2 separate regions of the Homo sapiens genome follow, and region 2 is linked to region 1. Evidence: promoter capture Hi-C in 16 types of primary human blood cells and fetal thymus (Javierre and others, 2016). All regions are on one chromosome and are shown on one strand. The core of a region is centred on a gene start or on the middle of the fragment in contact, and the rest is flanking DNA. Distances in the headings are between cores, read along the strand shown.

Region 1 (3,212 bases), core at 527-3,026:
AACAAATACTCATGGGCTGGGCGTGGTGGCTCACGCGTGTAATCCCAGCACTTTGGGAGGCCGAGGCAGGCGGATCACGAGGTCAGGAGATCAAGACCATCCTGGCTAACACGGTGAAACCCTGTCTCTACTAAAAATACAAAAAATTAGCCGGGCGAGATGGTGGGCGCCTGTAGTCCCAGCTACGCGGGAGGCTGAGGCAGGAGAATGGCGTGAACCCAGGGGGTGGAGCCTGCAGTGAGCTGAGATCACGCCACTGCACTCCAGCCTGGATGAAAGAGTGAGACTCCTTCTCAAAAAAAAAACAAAAAAAAAAAAAACAAATACTCATGATGCTGAAAGGCTGAACTGTGGGATGGAAGGAGGACCCTCCCAGGGCACTGGAGGGGTTTGGGCTCCCACTGTCTGCAGGTCCATCTTGCCTTTCTTTCTTTTTTCTTTTTTTCTTTTCTTTTTTTTTTTTTTTTTTTGAGACAGAGTCTCACTCTGTCACCCAGGCTGGAGTGCAATGGTGCAATTCTGGCTCACTGTCATCTCCGCCTCCTGGGTTCAAGCGATTCTCGTGCCTCAGCCTCCCGAGTAGCTGGGACTATAGGCGTGCGCGAGCACACCCAGCTAATTATGTATTTTTAGTAGAAACGGGGTTTCACTATGTTGGTCAGGCTGGTCTTGAAGTCCTGACCTCAAGTGATCCACCCCACTTGGCCTCCCAAAGTGCTGGGATTCCAAGCATGAGGCTCTGCACCTGGCCCACCATGCCTTTCTTATCTGAGCCCTGTTGTACTTGAGTTGCGGCTCTGTTGTAAGTGGGGTGCTGCCACGGCTCCTAGTTCCCAGTCGTGCAGCTCTGAGCTGGACAGGAATGTGGTGGGGCAGTGGGGGTGAAGTCCCACCCCTCAGACAAAGGACATCCTCCTGCTTCCCAGGCTCATGATAGAAGAGGGAATGGACACCCGCCAAGACCCTCCAGCCCAAAGGCTCTGCCCCAGCAGATGATGTCCCGAGAAGACAGCAGCCAGTGTGTCCTCAGAGCCTGGTCTGCAGCTAGCTCCCATTCCTAGTTCTGCTGAATGGGCCCACAGTGGCTGGGGAGGCCAATGGGGCAGCTCCGGGTAGAGGGGAGATGGGGCAGAGGTGCATGCTAGGGTGGCCCGGCATGGCCCAGGACCTAAGGCCCTGCCACCTCCAGCCCCTTGCCTCTGCCCTTGCCTCTGTGTGTGCCCATTCAATTGCTGGTGGCTGTTGCTCATATGCTAGGAGCCAGGAGGCAGGACCCGGAGGTCCCAGGAGTGTCAGAGGAATGGTGACACAAAGAAAAAAACACTTCAGATGAAGAACGCACGGGCAAAGAGATGAGCTGGTGGGGAGGGGGCTCGGGGAGTGAGGTCAGGGAGACCAACTAGTCCCGGTCTGCCCAGCACTGTCCTGGTTTTAACTCTAGAAGTTCCAGGGCAATTGGGATGGTGACACCCAAAGTGGGATGGGGCTAGCCACAGGTAGGAGACTGAGAGAGCCATTGTCTGGGGCAGGGCCTGCAAAAGTCTCTCCCTGGAGGCCCAGGGCAGACACACTGGGCTCCCAGCACTTCTCACGCTATCCAGAGTGTCAAGCCTCCCCTTCGAGCCCGTACCAAGGTGCTCCAGGAGGCCCCAAGTTGCCCGAGAAAAGCAGAGGACCCCGTCCCCTCGCACCACCTAAGGTCTCCATGTGTTCCCACCAGGTTGCCTTACCTGTCTTGGGGAGGCAGCTGCCACCTGGGAGATCTCAGGGAATTGTGGCAAGCTGGCTGCAGAAGAGCGACCTTTGTCCCCACCCCCCCTCCTCTAGGAACTGCCTTCACCATATAAGGGAAGATAGGGCCCCAGAGAGGTGAGGGGGTGGGGAGGCAGGTGCTGCCAGGTCCCTGGGAGCCCAGAGCCCTCCACAGCCTGACAATGAGAGCTGATGTGCCCCACCCTTGGCTTTTTTTTTTTTTTGAGCCTCACTCTGTCATTCAGGCTGGAGTGCAGTGGTATGAATTCGACTCACTGCAACCTCCGCCTCCCAAGTTCAAGTGATTCTCCTGCCTCAGCTTCCCAAGTAACTGGGACTACAGACATGTGCCACCATGCCTGGCTAATTTTTGTATATTTAGCAGAGACAGGGTTTCACCATGTTGGCCAGGCTGGACTTGAACTCCTGACCTCAAATGATCCACCTGCCTCGACCTCCCAAAGTGCTGGGATTACAGGTGTGAGGCCCGGCGCCCAGCCCCTCCCTTGGCTTCTGAGTGAGCAAGGGATGGGGTGCTTTTCTGCCCAGGGCCCAGGCCCTCACCACAGGCAGACAGCACTGTCCAGGTAGGGTCAGCGGCGCCTGAACCTTTCCTCCTACCAACCAAGAGAAGGAGGCTCAGCTGTCCTCCCACCTGCCCTGGGGTGAATGGTTCATGGAGAAAGAGAGGCAGGACTCTAGGGTTGCAGAAGCCCCAAACCCAGGAATGCAGGGACTTATACTCAGGGCCCCTCCAGAACAGATGGGAGGTCTCTTAGAGGTCTCCTAGAGGTCTCTTCTCAGCATGACCCTCACTTAGCAAGGGCCCCAGTGAGCACAACTGCTCCTCCTCTCCACCCTTAGGGGCACTGGCTCCACCTGGAGTGTTTTTTTTGTTTTCGTTTTTTTTGCTGAGATGGAGTCTGTCTCTGTCGCCCAGGCTGGAGTGCAGTGGCGTGATCTCATCTCACTGCATCCTCCGCCTCCTGGGTTCAAGTGATTCTCCTGCCTCAGCCTCCCGAGTAGCTGGGATTACAGCCGCACACCACCACGCCCAGCTAATTTTTGTATTTTTAGTAGAGACGGGGTTTCACCATGTCGGCCAGGCTGGTCTTGAACTCTTGACCTCGTGATCCGCCCACCTCGGCCTCCCAAAGTGCTGGGATTACAGGCGTGAGCCACTGCACCCGGCCCACCTGGAGTTTTTATGAGATGCCATAAACCAGTGCCTTTGAACTCTGTTCTGCTACCCTCTCCCAGAAGCCAAGGTTTCCATGTCTGACCCCTGACCCTAGGGGATCCATCTCACTCAGGCAGGAAAGTTGTGCAGCCAACTCCAGCGTGGATCTCGCTGAGAAACCAGCTTCACACGCAAACTCAGCACCTTGGGCAGCTGCCTCCCAGACTGCAGAAATTCTCCTATCACCTGTGAAGCCTGGTCCTTAGGAGGGTGACGTGAA
Region 2 (3,212 bases), core at 431-2,930, 190 kb after region 1:
GGTGGAAACTGCTTCCAGAATGACATGGCTTAAGAAACAAACATTTTATTTTAATTTAATTAATTCTTTTTTTTTGAGACGGAGTCTCACTCTGTCACCCAGGCTGGAGTGCAGTGGCGTGATCTCGGCTCATTGCAACCTCCACCTCCTGGGTTCAAGCAATTCTCCTGCCTCAGCCTCCCTAGTAGCTGGGATTACAGGTGTCCACCACCACACCAAGCTAATTTTTATATTTTTTAGTAGAGATGGGGTTTCACCATGTTGCCCAGGCTGGGCTCGAAATCCTGACCTCAAGCAATCCACCTGTCTTGGCCTCCCAAAGTGCTGGGATTACAGGCGTGAGCCACTGCGCCTGGCCTACTTATTTATTTATATACAAAGACAGGGTCTCACTACGTTGCCCAGGCTGGGCTTGAACTCTTGACCTCAAGCGATGCTCCTGCCTTGGCCTCCAAAAGTGCTGGGATTACAGGAATGAGCCCCCACGCCTGGCTGAACAATAATTTCCTAATATTCCACATATTTATTTAACCATTTTCCTATAGCTGGAAGAAATTTTCAACCTGCAAGACTACATTTTCTTACACAAGGGCAAAAGATAAATAATGCCACCTGTAGTTCCTATTTGGTGATTGCACAGCCACTGTGAGGTATTTCTTTTACCGAAGAGGAATTGAGAGGAGGGGCTCAAGGTCACGAGAGTTTCTTGGTGGCACAGAGAGACTTGACCTTCAGGTGTCTGATATACCACTTCTTTAAAAAAAAGTAACATGCATATCCCAAGAATTTGAAACAGCATGCGACCTCTGAGCTACAAGTCTGTGTTGCACGTACTATTGGTATTTCGAGGAAGGGGAAATCAGATGTGGTGGGGATTTAGTTTAAATCCCTAAGTCCCTAAGATTTAGTTTAATTTCAAGCTTACTAAGTTAATATTCTGAGATCTAAGAGGTACTGAGAGCCAAATTTATATCATGTTCAACTGCTTTGCTCCCTCCCCTTGGTAAAACCAGCCAACACTTCCTTGTCACTTCACTTGCACTTTTAACCATGATTCACTTTTCAGTTTGTACCCCCTCTCCCAATGACACCAGGAGATGGGTGGAGGCAACCTATCACTCATCACCATTACCTTCCCACTCTAGCAGCAGAGGCATTCCACCTTTAAAAATGGCCTGTGACAAAGTAATAACCTTCCTGTGGTTATCATGGGTTGGTCACTGTTTAACCAACCCAGGGAGCCATTTACTGTGCACTCTGCTCCAACACTATGAATGTTACTTACTCCACCCACTTGAGTGGGTGGGGCTGGTTCTTTGACCCTTGTGGTAGCTACAAGAATAGCAATGTGTTCTGGAGCTCCATCGTAAGAAAAGCACAGAATGGAAAGGAGATTTAAGAAATCTAGCTTAACTCTTTCTTTCCAGGATTATTATTATTGCATTTAGATCTTTTCCTTTTTTTGAGGTGGAATCTCACTATGTCGTCCAGGCTGGACTTGAACTCCTGGGCTCCAGCAACTCTCCCCACTTGAACCCCTCAAGCCAACTGTGTGAAGTCCCAACACACAGTTGGCACTACAGGTGTGTGCCACTGTGCAGGCTTGCACCTAGTGAAGACTGTCTAGGGGAGAATGATTACACAATTTAAAAAAAGTCTATTCAAATATTTTAACACTTCTTTTCAGGTAGTTATAGCTGATCCAAAGCAGCGATGCAGCTGGACATGGTGGCTCACATCTATAATCCCAGCACTTTGGGAGGCCCAGGAAGGAGGACTGCTTGAGCCCAGGAGTTTGAAACTAGCCTGGGCAACATAGTGAAACCTCCTCTCTCTAAAGAACAAACAAACAAAAAATAAGCCAGGTGTGGTGGCACGTGCCTGTAGTCCCAGACACTCAGGAGGCTGAGGTGAGAGGACTGCTTGAGCCTGGGAGGTTGAGGGGTGCAGTGGCTGTGATTGTGCCACTGCACTCCAGCCTAGGTGACAGAACAAGACCTTGTCAAAAAAAAAAAAAAAAAAAAAAAAGAAAAAAAAAAGAAAAGGCTGGGCACGGTGGCTCACACCTGCAATCTTAGCACTGTGGGAGGTCGAGGCAGGCAGATCACCTGAGGTCAGAAGTTTGAGAGCAGCCTGGCCAATGTGGTGAAACGCCATCTCTATGAAAAGTACAAAAAATTAGCCAGGTGTAGCGGTGCATGCCTGTAATCCCAGCTACTCAGGAGGCTGAGGCAGATGAACTGCTTGAACCCAGGAGTTGGAGGTTGCAGTGAGCTGAGCTGGCGCCACTGCAGTACAGCCTGGGGCAACAGAGTGAGACTCCACCTCAAAAAAAAAAAAGAGGCAGGGCTGCTTTAATAGCCATTTGTTTTCTTTCACTCTTTATCTGGTAAAGAAGTGTCAGCCACTATCTTTTACAAAACAATTCTTCATAAGCTTTATAAAAGCACTAGGTCTTCTTTCTGAAGCTTTTCTTTTTCCAGTAAACTAATCTGGATTCCAAATCCTCTAAATATTTCTTCTTTCTTTGAACTTATGAGAAAATCAATTGCATTTGAATAACTAAGGGAAGCAACCAATGGCTCTTGGTATTAAGACTAATTTTAGTTTTTATGCTAAAAAATTAAACAAGCTTTTGACCATATTCCTTTACAAATCATCTTTTATTATATAAGTTTTAAATAATTCAAAAGCTACTACTTTTCAGAAAGAAACAGCTATGGTTATATCTTCATTTAACAGATTAAGGAGAACCTAGTTTGTTAAAACTAAGAAATTTGAAAACTGATTCAGGAACTGAGTCATATTTCCTGCTTTGAGACCCAACCACAGCGTGCACAAACTGGTGTAATAGCATTTTCTTTCTTCCATAAATGGCTCTCCTCAGAGCAAATACAGTTCAACAGGAACCAAACCTGCTACTTAACTATTTAAAGAAGCCAGTGAACAAGGCATGGCCACCGAAGTTTCATAATGTCTGGACATCTTTCTTATTTCCCCTATGGTAGTTATAAAGAAGAGATATTTAAAGACGGTAGCTTTAAAGAGCTTTAATTAAAAATTTCAAAAGACAGCTATTTGTGCCTAAGCCTCCAGAATGAGAACCTGAGACTATAAAATTTAAACAAGCTAGAAGTTATCTATCTGCCTTGATAATATTACAAAAATAGAACAGAACCTAATTCTTGCAACAGCTATTTTTGTACTGATCA

Evidence for each region. Contacts are between HindIII fragments. The CHiCAGO score rates a contact against its expected background, and 5 or more counts as called.
Region 2: a fragment that was not itself captured here is called in contact with the fragment with the promoter of VIL1 in region 1 in 3 of 17 cell types (total CD8 T cells, naive CD4 T cells and monocytes); the score reaches 7.6 in total CD8 T cells.

What each region holds. Positions count from the first base shown.
Region 1 is chr2:218,417,687-218,420,898 of GRCh38, reverse strand. VIL1 (villin 1) reads right to left here and starts at 1,776. Exons shown (of 20, transcript NM_007127.3): 1 at 1,731-1,776. The HindIII fragment of the contact is 19,335 bases long and covers 1-3,212 here.
Region 2 is chr2:218,229,104-218,232,315 of GRCh38, reverse strand. All of the region lies in intron 4 of ARPC2 (actin related protein 2/3 complex subunit 2), which reads right to left. Among named protein-coding and RNA genes, the nearest start is that of ARPC2, 14 kb to the right of the region's middle. The HindIII fragment of the contact is 1,516 bases long and covers 923-2,438 here.